Linked DNA regions of Homo sapiens: regions 1 and 3 are each linked to region 2. The links are contacts of gene promoters, found by promoter capture Hi-C in human tissues and cell types (Jung and others, 2019). All regions are on one chromosome and are shown on one strand. The core of a region is centred on a gene start or on the middle of the fragment in contact, and the rest is flanking DNA. Distances in the headings are between cores, read along the strand shown. Region 1 has its middle 41 kb from the start of GGTLC1. Region 2 holds the start of CST7 (cystatin F). Region 3 has its middle 34 kb from the start of LINC01721.

What was found. Contacts are between HindIII fragments. The study calls those that stand out against the background at their distance.
Region 1: a fragment that was not itself captured here is called in contact with the fragment with the promoter of CST7 in region 2 in 1 of the 25 tissues and cell types used here (stomach).
Region 3: a contact is called between a fragment that was not itself captured here and the fragment with the promoter of CST7 in region 2, in 3 of the 25 tissues and cell types used here (H1 embryonic stem cells, aorta and stomach).

What each region holds. Positions count from the first base shown.
Region 1 is chr20:24,027,551-24,031,256 of GRCh38, forward strand. No RefSeq gene overlaps it. Among named protein-coding and RNA genes, the nearest start is that of GGTLC1, 41 kb to the left of the region's middle. The HindIII fragment of the contact is 3,450 bases long and covers 591-3,706 here.
Region 2 is chr20:24,947,835-24,952,010 of GRCh38, forward strand. CST7 (cystatin F) reads left to right here and starts at 1,435. Exons shown (of 4, transcript NM_003650.4): 1 at 1,435-1,741. The coding sequence starts at 1,672. RefSeq lists an enhancer at 1,101-1,150. The HindIII fragment of the contact is 14,192 bases long and covers 1-4,176 here.
Region 3 is chr20:24,163,972-24,168,219 of GRCh38, forward strand. No RefSeq gene overlaps it. Among named protein-coding and RNA genes, the nearest start is that of LINC01721, 34 kb to the right of the region's middle. RefSeq lists an enhancer at 462-756. The HindIII fragment of the contact is 6,325 bases long and covers 1-4,248 here.

The DNA of each region.
Region 1 (3,706 bases), core at 1,066-3,565, 920 kb before region 2:
CCTGGAGAGTTCTGGGAGCCAAAGCAAAAGTGGCATGAACAAGAAATACATTTTGCTGTGCCACATCAGTAAGATTTTCCAGCTATTTCTTAGCACAGGATAATCTACCATACCTTTTCCTTCCTTTCATTTTTGCGTCTGCAGTGATGGTATTCTATTTCACTTTTCTATACAGATCACTGATTGTCTACCTCCACCTACGAAGCAGTCCTTTCCTCCCCCAGGGGCCTGCAGTGCATCTATTTGTGTGAGCCTGTTTTGGGCTTCCTTCTGCTCCATCATCAGCTCATCAGTCCTGAACAAATACCTCTGTAGTCTTCATTACTGCAGCTTAATAGTATCTGGTGTAGTAACTCTCTCTACTTTCTATTTCTTTTTCAGGACTGTCTTTTCCAACCTTACTTTACTCATCCATTAAGTTTTAGAAACCTACAACCACATACACAATGGAAAGCTTGTTGGGGTTTTGGTTGTGATTGCATTTGAGGAGCTTATCGTTACAATATTGAGTGTTCCTACTCATCGTAGCTGGGCTATGGGCTATTTTTCTTTTTTGATATATCTAAAGCATTATAACTTTTTGGAACAAAAGAATAGGATTTCTTGAGTTTAGGCAACCATCTGGAATTAGAAGTCTATTTGCAACAGTGTTTCACAGAGATAAACTCAGGACTCAATACCATAAAGCAAAGTACAGGGAGGAGAGGGGTTGGGGAGAGGACTAAGCTTCAGGTATTTTCTCTGTGTCGGATGCCCCTTGGGTGTCATGCATGCAGTATTTCAATTTATTCCCATGAAACCTCTATCTAACATGTAGCATTTTCTCCATGAAATCAAGACCCAGTTATGTTAAGCAAACTATCAAAGCTCAAACCCTGGTAAAAAGTGACAGGGCTAAGAATTGGAGAAGGCCACTTGGATTTCAAGCCAGGCTTCCCCAATATCATCATGACAAGTGTATTAAAGAAATTCGAAAGATTTTGCCTGGCTTTCTTGAGGTTGATGGATTGGCTTATTGTCTTGGCTAATGCTTTCTATCAAATTTTTAATTATTACAATAAATTTTATTTTTATTATTTATTTATTTATATTTTATTTTTTGAGATGGAGTTCCATTCTTGTTGCCCAGGCTGGGGTGCAATGGCATGACCTCAGCTCACTGCAATTTCTGCCTCCCTGGTTCAAGTGATTCTCCTGCCTCAGCCTCCCGAGTAGCTGGGATTATAGGCGCCCGCCACCATGACTGGCTAATTTTTTGTATCTTTAGTAGAGACGGGTTTTCACCATGTTGACCATACTCGTCTTGAACTCCTGACCTCAGGTGATCCACCTGCCTCAGCCTCTCAAAGTACTAAGATCACAGGCGTGAGCCACCACGCCCGGCCTACAATAAATTTTAGAATAATATCCTGCATAGGCTGATAAAAAGTTTATGACTTTAAAAAGTGTCTATCCACAGGCCAATTTGGCAGAGATCAAGAGATATTTTGTCATCTTTCCATCAGCAGATGTTGGTGAACTTAACACTTGAAGGAATAAAACAGCAACAATGCTGTCAGTTCTGGAGAGGCGCACAAGATGGGCACAGCTGTTGCAATGTTTTGAGAAAGGACATTAGTTTCTTCTTAGTCTCCATCGTCATATTCTTCTTCCATAACCTAGGGGGCAATTTATTACCAGTAGAAATAAATTGCATTGTGTACCAGCTCTGGCTTTGAAGTTTTCATTTTCTGTCTGTGTAATAACATGCTATGATTATGTATGAACTTCTAAATGGGAACAGAGGAGACTTAATTCCATTACATTTCCCTGGAGAAAGGAAGTCTAATTCAGTTCATACACAAGGATTCTTCTTGTTATATAACCGTAGTGTTTGGAGCATTATTTTCAGAGTTGTTGACTGTGGCTTGATGAGATTTTATTTTATGTAGCCAGTCCAGGCTACCAATATTTGACTTAACTTGAGAGGCAATAATACAAAGAATTTTCTTCCTTCTGAACTTGTAAAATGTACCTGACTTTCCTGCCCCAACCGTAGGGGAATATGAATTTAGCTCTGATAAAATTTAGCATCTAAGTTAATTTTGCTCTCTCCTTTCCACAGGCTGAATGTTTTTCTACCAATGCATAAGATCTACCAGCCACAGACAGGCACTGTTTTTAGATGGTCTTGAGGCATCTCATTTTACAAAGGATATAGAAACAGACGGATGCTATATAGAAACTGGTGGAGTGGGGTGGAAGAGAAGACAGAAGACAAGGGTTATAATTTAATCATATAAACTCTGGATGCAATAACCAAGGTCTCCCCAGAAAGCTGTCAGTGTATACTTGTGTGGTGAGTAGATTTCTAATCAGCTCTAGAAGGGTGGCCAAACACAGCTAAACTGTGTCTTTTAGTAGCAGGAAAAGCATCTGCTATAGTTTAGATGTTTGTCCCCCAAACTCCATATTGAAATTTGACCCCCAATATTGGATGGGGGCCTAAGGGGAGGTGTTTGGATCCTGAGGACAGATCCCTCATGAATGTCTTGGTACTGTCCTCACAGTGAAGAGTGAGTTCTCACACTATCAGCTCCCTTGAGAAACTGGTTGTCAAAACAAGCCTGGCACTCCCCATCCCCTCACCACGTGGTCTCTGCACACACGAGCTTCCATTCACTTTTCATCATGTATGGAACCAACCCGAGGACCTCATTGGAAAGAGAGTGGATGCTGGCACCATGCTTCTTGTTCAGCCTGCAGAACTGGGAGACAACATAAACCTCTTTCCTTTATAACTTACCCAGACTTGAGTATTTCTTTGTAGCAATACAAACAGACAAAGCATCTGACAAGCAAGTTGTTCAATGAAGAGATTGTTAGAGCCTGGGGAAGAGTCATCATGTTCAATTGGTACAAGATGCAATTAACTAATATGATTTGGGACAGCTGTCTCCATTGAGGTCACCAGGGTGTCATGGAGTGAAGCTTCAGGAGGAAGAGCTGACTACTTCCTACCCTGGGCTCCATTTTTGTCAGGGCTCTACAGAGAGACAGAACTGACAAGATATAAAGAGAGGAATAAAACAAAAATCCAGATATTTCTATAAATCCGATTATTTGCCAAATTAAATGTGAAAGCTTGCCTCTATCTCTTTCCATTGTGTGCAGATATTTTGCACAGTGTGGATTTGGTCTCTAGGTGTGAGTGTGCCCTGGACACAATGCATAGTAGACAGACATTGTGCTTCGTTGTAGACACTGTGCTAGGCACGTATTACACATTGCCCCAAATCCTTATCACAAACACATCAGGAGTATGATGGCCAAGGAGGAAGCTGTGGCTCAGCCCATTGAGGCTGTATATCCAGGGATCAACAGCCAGTAAGTGGGTGTGCTGACTCCCAAGGCCAAAGCCCACCTACTTGCCAGGTAACTTTCTAGGGATATGAAGGCATTCTATGTTATGATGGTGTGTGTTACATGAGTGTATCTGTCTACCAAAAGTGTGCTTCCATGATTTATGCAATCAGATATGGGATATAATGGTAACTCATGTTTTTACCCAAGGATTTTTTCATCACCATAAAACATCACTTCTACTCAGCTTTATTCTAATGATTTGAGGCAGAGTTTAAAAATCTGTCAAAATTAAATATATTTTTAACAAAGTGAAGACATCTAGACAAACAGACAATGGGGTAGGAAAGATGGAGCTAAAACC
Region 2 (4,176 bases), core at 185-2,684:
ACCATTCAGGACATAGGCATGGGCAAAGACTTCATGACTAAAACACCAAAAGGAATAGCAACAAAAGCCAAAATTGATAAATGGGACCTAATTAAACTAATGAACTTCCACACAGCAAAAGAAACTGTCATCAGAGTGAACAGGCAACCTACAGAATGGGAGAAAATTTTTGCAATATATCCATTTGACAAAGAGCTAATGTCGAGAATCTACAAGGAACTTAAACAATTGACAAGAAAAAAACAACCCCATCAAAAATTGGGTGAAGGATATGAACAGACACTAAAAAGAAGACATTTATGCAGCCAAGAAACATATGAAAAAACGCTCATCATCACTGGTCATTAGAGAAATGCAAATCAAAACCACAATGAGGTACCATCTCATGCCAGTTAGAATGGTGATCGTTAAAAAGTCAGGAAGCAACAGATGCTGGAGAGGATGTGGAGAAATAGGAACGCTTTTACACTGTTGGTGGGAGTGTAAATTAGTTCAACCATTGTGGAAGACAGTGTGGTGATTCCTCAAGGATCTAGAACCAGAAATACCATTTGACCCAGCAATTTCATTACTGGGTATATACTCAAAAATCATTCTACTATAAAGACACATGCACACGTATGTTTACTGCAGCACTAGTCACAATAGCAAAGACTTGGAACCAACCCAAATGCCCATCAATGGTAGACTGGATAAAGAAAATGTGGCACATATACACCATGGAATACTATGCAGCCATAAAAAAGATGAGTTCATGTCCTTTGCAGGGACATGGATGAAGCTGGAAACCATCATTCTCAGCAAACTAACACAAGAACAGAAAACCAAACACCGCATGTTCTCATTCATAGGTGGGAGTTGAACAATGAGAACACATGGACACAGGGAGGGGAACATCACACACCAAGGACTATCTGGGGATCCGGGGCCAGGGGAGGGATAGCATTTGGAGAAATACCTAATGTAGATGATGGGTTGATGGGTGCAGCAAACCACCATGGCACGTGTATACCTATGTAACAAACCTGCATGTTCTGCACATGTACCCCAGAACTTAAGTAATTAAAAGAAAAAGGAAAATCAAGTGATTTTGCTTTTGAAAATTCCTGCTAATGTTTTTCATGCAACATCTCTTTCGTGTGTGGCTCAGGGGTAGAACATTGCATCAGGATTTGCTCATGGGTCTCATGTCTCTTCCTCCTCCCCCAGCAAATGACGGCTGCTCGGAAACTTTTATAAAGGAAGCGGTTGCTTTGTGGCTGATAGATCTGAAGGTGAAGAGCTTCTGGCCAAAATGATTCAGCAGCAAAACACTCCCCTCCCCAGCACCACGCAGGCAGCCCCCTAGCCCCGCCCCTGCCCCATCCCACAGTGGTTTGCAGGGTGGGGTTCCATGCTGTGGCCCTGGCACCTGCCCCTGGGCTGGGACAGCCCACTGTTCCATGCTGCCCAAGAAGGCTCAGCACAGGCACAAACCATTGCCCGGCACTGGCCCGTGCTGCCTGAGAAGGATTGGCACGGGCACAGACCACTGCCCCCACCTGCCCTGCGCCATCTACCCAAGAAGGCTCGGCACGGGCACCAACCACTGCCTCCAACTGCCCCATGCTGCCTGAGAAGGCACTGCACGGCCACCCCCAACTGCCCCGCACTGTCCCTACCCGGGCAGCCATGCGAGCGGCTGGAACTCTGCTGGCCTTCTGCTGCCTGGTCTTGAGCACCACTGGGGGCCCTTCCCCAGGTAAGTGGCGTTCTCCCCTGTCCGCTCCCCGGGGGTCTCTCCCTGAGATTGGCCACTGGTGCCTTGGGTCTTCCCCAGGGCACTTTCCTAGCTTGGAGCCCCCACAGGACCATGCGGTGGTGAGAGGTGCTGGGAGTGGTGAGAGGGGCAAGGGGCTCCATCTGGCTGCAGCTACCTTTGGGGGTAGCAGGCTACAGGGATGAAGGGTTTGGGGGCTGCCCCAGAAGGCTAGGGGCAAGGGAAGCATCTTCTATTCTCTGGCTCTTCACAGAGGTCTGAGAAAGGTCTAAGTAAGGCAGGTCTCCCGCAGCTCCTCTGCGGGACGGAGGCGACAGGGCAGCCACATGCCTGTGGTTAGCCGCTTCTATCTGATGGCTTGTCATTCCTTCCTGCTGGCTGTTGTCCTGTGACTTGGCTCCAGGGACCCTAACGATCAGACTCTTTCACCCTTCCTGAAATCCACTCCCTGAGGGTCAGCACTCAGGGGGAGGGGGGACAGGGAGGAAAGAGCCACTGCCTGTGCACTGGGAAACTGAGACACAGCCAGGCTAGGTGATTTGCCCAAGTCACACAGCCAGGGACAACCTGCTCTCCCCCAAAGGGAACTGGGCCATGGCCTCCCTGGCACAGGAATCAGACCAGGATACTGATGGGGACTTGGGAGGCCCCCACCTCATTTAACCAACCAGGAAGCTGGCACCAGAGGGCTGAGGTGACCCGCTCAAGTCATATGACCCCCACCCAGCAGACAGGGACAGAAGGGGGCTGGAGCCTGGCCAAAGGGGCCCAGGTGGGGGCTGTGCAGCAGGACCACTGACAAGAGGATGGCTCCAGAGCACCCAAGGGGTTCTTGGAGGGTTCTCACCTCCTCCTGGTGAGTCAGGATACTGAGGACTCAGTGATGCTGGGGGACACTGTGTCGAGCTCCCAGGCCTGGCCTAGGGCGGACGCTGCGACTGAGCAGCCAAGGGGACACGGCAGGCTGGAGGAGGGGCCGGGGGCAGCTTCTGCTCTCACTGATGGGAACATGCCACCGCCACCAGCTCTGGGTAGTGCTCAGCGAACATGGAGCTGACCCATGGCTGGCAGAAGGCTGGGGACAGCATACCCGGCCCTGCCTCCCAGCTTGGGAGCCTTCTTAGCTCACGCAAGGAGCCCTCCACCTGCTTCCCAGCCTCACAGGGGCCTCTCCTCCTGGCCCTGTCCTGATGCAGTGCTGCCTGCCTGCTGCCATTCTGTGCCCTGCCCCTTCGTGTCTCCAAGGTCCAAGGGGGAAGCAGGGAAGAGAGGCAAGTTCACTCCAGAGAAGTGGCTCGTTCTCACACCTCAGAAAAGGCTCTCCTGGAGGGGACATGGAGCCAGCTGTCCTAGCGTGTCCTGGGATCTAATTAAACCTACTGACTGCTGAGGGGTTTCAGAGCTCTGCTCATCTCACGGAGCAGGCTAGGGACTATAACAGGGTGGCGTGGGAGCCGATGTGCTGGGCAGCTGGCAACGTCATTTTCCTGGGTGGTGTTCCCGGCCCCTCGCTGGTATGTAATGCTGCACCAAGCCTTTCCCTCCATTCTCAGCAGACCTGCTGTCAGCCACCAAACCCCAGAGAGAAGCTCCAGAGCCCACGTTCACACACACAGAGCGGGCCCTCAGCCTCAGTCCTACCATCCATGAAATGGGAAGATAACTGCACCCCGTCTCCGGCCCTGGGGAGGCTGAACAGAGGTGGCTCGGGGAAGGCACAGGCATGGAGGCACATGGGGCATGGGGTGCTCTCCGCCAGCCTCAGCCCCCTGCTCTGTCTAGTGCAGGCCCTTCTGCCACTGTGCTGGTGACAGCCCCCAGCACCCTGCCCAGGCGCTGTGATCATTTCTGGTGCTTCCAGCAAGGGCCTTCAGTCTTCGGCTGTATAGGGAGGGTGCTGGGAGGCCCCCAGTCTAGCAGCAAAAAAGAGATGGGAACCTGGGCCCCAGACACAAGCATGCGTCCTGCCCCCACTCCACAACTCCTACAGCCCCTCCGCTGCCTCCTCTGAGAATAAATTACAGAGCCTTCCTCATGACTGAGGGGGGTAGGGGGCGGGGAAGCAACAGGGACCCCAAGGGTGGTGCCGTCTGAGCATCTGGCCTCTCTCCACACCCATGCACTGAACTGCACAGACCATAGCGCTGAGCCCCTCAGGGCACCTCTCCTCCCTGAGGCTTTCAGAACCTAGGAAATTGCCACACTGGCTTCCGCCACCCTTTTGAAAAGGGCTGTTTCTTTCTCAATCTGATGGGCATCTCTTCTGGGAAGCTCTGCCAGGTGCCATGTCATCCTCTGCCCCCTCCACTCTAGCTGCAACGGCCCATCTGCCTGGACAGGGGCCCTGGGGTCAGGGAGCCATTTCAGCTTCCCTCTGCAAGGTGATGTCAGTCCTTACTTCCCAGTAGCAGAGAGAC
Region 3 (4,248 bases), core at 1,296-3,795, 780 kb before region 2:
TGCAAACTATTCCTGGTGAAGATGCTGTGAACATTGTTGAAATGACAACAAAGGATTCAGGACATTCCATAAACTCAGCTGATAAAGCAGTGGCAGGGTTTGAGAGGATTAACTTCAATTTTGTAAGAAGTTCTACTGTAGGTAGATGCTATTGAAATGTTATCAAACAGCATCACATGCTACAGAGAAATCTTTTCTGAAAGGAGTCAACTGATGTGGCAAACTTCACTGTCGTCTTTTAAGAAATCGTCACAGCCATCCCAACCTTCAGCACCCACCACCCTGATGAGTCAGCAGCCATCAACACTGAGGCAAGACCCTCCACCAGCAAAGATTATGACTTGCTCAAGGCCCAGATAATTGTTAGCAATTTTTTAGCAATAAAGTATTTTTAAATTAAGATATATACATTGTTTTTTTAGAAAAATGTGATTGCACACCACGTAGACTACAATGTAATGTAAACATATCTTTTATATGCACTGAGAAACAAAAATAAATCCTGTGGGATTCTCTTTATTGTGGTGGCCTGGAACCCACTCAGCAGTACTGCTGAGGTGCGCCTGCCCGCGGCTGGGGCTCTGGTGCCCCCTGCTGCTGGAATTCATCAGGGTCGTTTCCTTGTTGAATGAAGGGTTAGGATTTCAATATTAGATTCCAGGACACTGAAGGCTTCAGGAAAAGCAAAATAAATGCACTCCTGATAAGTTGCTCCCCACTGAGGGTTGGCTGGGATTATGATTGTCTTACTTTTTTGTGTTTTTCAGCATTTCACAAATAAAGACAAGACAGGATAAAGATAGAAAGTAATTTCCAATATTGCATTTGTATATGTGCTAGTTTTTCTCCCATGTTGAAAGGACTTTGCACAAAGTTGCCCTCCGAGACCAGCTCATGCTTCTAGAACCAACCCTGCCTGGACACCCAGCGAGCACTGCCTGGTTTGGATTTGAGCGCTCACAATTTCCTCTGCCCCAGTTGGGAGATTATAGGCTGTGCAGTTCATAGGAAAGTTTTGATTTCTGATACTTTAATTTTCCTTGAGTTTCAGGAAAACAAATGTGATATGAATGAGTGTTAACATATACCCTTATCGGCACAGTCAGAGAGGTGAAACTCTTGCACGAAGCTTGCCCCATGTGTCAATATTCCATGACTTCAGCTGAATAACTGTGTCTAAAAAACACACAATCAGCCACCATGTCAGCAGAAAACAAAATGCTAATTTTTAGGCTTCCTCACCTCATCTCCTGCTTGCTAGAGATGGAGGAATTAGGGGTGGGGCAGGAAAACAAAGGAGCAACATGTTATAAACTTGGCCTTTTTTCTCTAAGCACAGTCTAGGCCCAAAGCAGACCCAGGGCACAGTTCCTTCCAGGAAGCGTCATCGATGAGAAACTGGACTGTTACTTTCCACCCTGTGACTTTTCACAGGGTGGAGAAGTGAGGACGTTTCAGAATAAGGGAGCTTATTTTGCCTGGAAAAGAAAAGCTTGAGAGGAGATCATTTTTCATTTTGACATTTCCCGGGGATATAGTACTGGCCTGGTATTGTTTCATTTCAGAGCTTGTCTAGAATGGAAAACAAACAAAAGAAATGAACCAAAAAAAAAAAAAATGAAAAGAAGGAAACCAAATAAACTCAGGCCCCAGAGAGAAGATCTGAACCAGGCCTGCAGCATGGTCAGTCTCTGGCCTCCCACACTCACTTCCGTGAGGCTGCCTGCAGGTCCAGCCAATTGGCTTGGGTGCCAAGAACACCCAAAAGAATACTCCAAGGCAGTGTTCTCAAGTTGATCCATCAGGGTAAACAAAGTAATAAAACATGCTTTTATTTTTATCTCAACCTTTTAAATATTTTATTGTAATGCATATTTCACAAGGTATTGAGTACAAGGTATGCAGGGTACAGGAGTTTGTGGCCATCATTTATAAAGCACTAAGTAGACACATGGAGTGTGTTTCATCATAGCAGGATGTGATCAAACAGATTTGAGTCCTTGGTTTGGATGATCACCTATGACAAAGATTCTCTGCTTGACCAAACTTTAGTCAGTTTTCTGAACCTTCTCCTAGGGCTTCTGAACCTTCTCCTACACTTCCTTGTGACATCTGTTTTAGCAATCCCTGCTTTGTCAATTTAGCGAGAACTCCCCGCCCCTGATATCTGATCCCCCTCGGTGATATCTGATCAGGCTCACCATGCTCCACCATCCCCCATGATGACCTATCACCCCGACCTACCTTCAGCAGGAATCCTGTGAGGTGGCTTAGCCAGAATCCCTGTACCCCTAAAGTAGCCTCTTAGTAATTGCCCATCCACTGACCCCTCCCCCTGGTCCTTGGCTATAAATTTCCACTTGCCTATGCTGTTTTCAGAGTTGAGCCCAGTCTCTCTCCCTCGCTGCAAGATCCTTTGCTATTATCCCTGTGCCTGCCATGGCAGTCCCAAACAAAGTCTTCCTTACTGTGCTTTAACTAATGCCATTGGATATTTTTTTCTTTAACACCTGGAAAGTTGTGTGTGGTTTCCAGGGTTTCTCCAGTAGCCTAGAGCCATTTGGAATCACGAGAGTATAAGGTTGCCTCTACTAGGCCTGGCAACAGAGCCTCAAATATAAAAAAAGATAAAGGGATTAGAAAGCCCCAGGAAGCAGGATTACTGCAGGGCATAGGGCCTGGCCTGCGGTGGGCAGGAAGAACCATGGTAATCAACACATTGGTTGAGCAAATATGATTCTCCACCACTAATCCTTCATGCCATCATCTTACAAACAAACAAAAAAACAGGGAATATCAGTAGGATAGCTCTTGGCCATTCGTGATTGGACAGAGCAGCAATGCAAAGTCAAGTCAGTCTGCCTTTGCAACCTTCCCAAGTGCTTTCGGTACCCACTGCCTCATCACTGTCTCCTCCTGGCCCCTGGTGCCTCAGCGCCTGGCCTCCCAGGAATGTGCTTCATATAGCTGGCTTTTGACCCAAGGCCTGGGGTCCTCAAGGAGCCATTCTCCTGGGAGGCAGAGGCTGGGAGAGAAGATCTCTGAGGCCACAGTGTGGCCCTCCATGAAAAGGTTGGCTGCTCTTCTCAGCCTGAAGCCTCTAACCTTTTCCATCACAAGCTCACTCAGCAGTAGCCCTGGCAGGAGGCTGCACCTGGCATTTGAGAGTGAAAGGGAAATAAATGCAACCATGTGCAAGCACAAACACACCAGAAGGAAGCAAGCCTCCCAGGGTGGAAGGAGCCTTTTTGCTGTGAGACAGTAGGGATGGAAGGCTATTTCAGTCTATTTTCTTAACCTGCTGCCATGGACTCACTCCTCTGAAGTCTCCAGCCCACTCCTACATGGATAGGTCACCATGCAGGAATGGCCCTGTCTAGCACCCATCAATCATCAAGACCCCCTCCAATGGCTCATCCCCAGACCTCTCCAGGCGCTTACACCAGCCTCCACGCCCAGAGCACATGGGCCACCCTCCGTTCTTCCACACATGGCTGTTGCGGTGTGTTTCTCACTAGCTGTGTGTATTACAATGGCAGGAGCTTAGTCTTGTTCATCTTCTTACCATCTGGGCCTTGCACGATGTGTGGCACAAGATATGCAGATCCTCAGCCCACATTTGGGGAATGAATGAATTGTCCACACATAACCTCAGAAAATTACTTTAAAATGTTTAGAATAATGACAGAAAGAGCAGCCATGAGGTCAGTGCAAGTTCCAAGTGGGGTGGTCGCCAGGACGGAAAGTCCCAAAGCAATGAGGCTGAGGAAGGGCAGAGCCCTGGTGAATCTGGAGGGGCAAATTTCCACAGCACTTCCCATGCTCCTGCATGTGGCAGCCAAGCTCACAGTGGAAAAATGCGGGGTGTCCTGACTTTCCTCTTCACAAAGTAACTCACAATCATGCTGCTTTTCCTGATGCATACCTCATTTGGGGTTCTAATTTTTTGTGGAGTGTAAGATGTACACAGGAAAGTGCAAAATCCAGAGTGAGCCTGATGTGAACAAAGTGAACGCATTCAGGTTACACCAGAAGGATAAAGGAAAAAAATGATATCAGCTGCTTCAAGTCCCCTTGTGTCTCTTCCAGGAACTGCCCCTCCAAGGGGTATCCTCACTTCTCTCCACAGTGATTAATTTCAACAGTTGATCTTCAAGTCCTATGAACATGGGACTACGCAAATGTGCTCTCTTGTGTTTGGCTTCTTTAGCCCAATAATATATCTACGATTCATGCATTTTGTGTCGT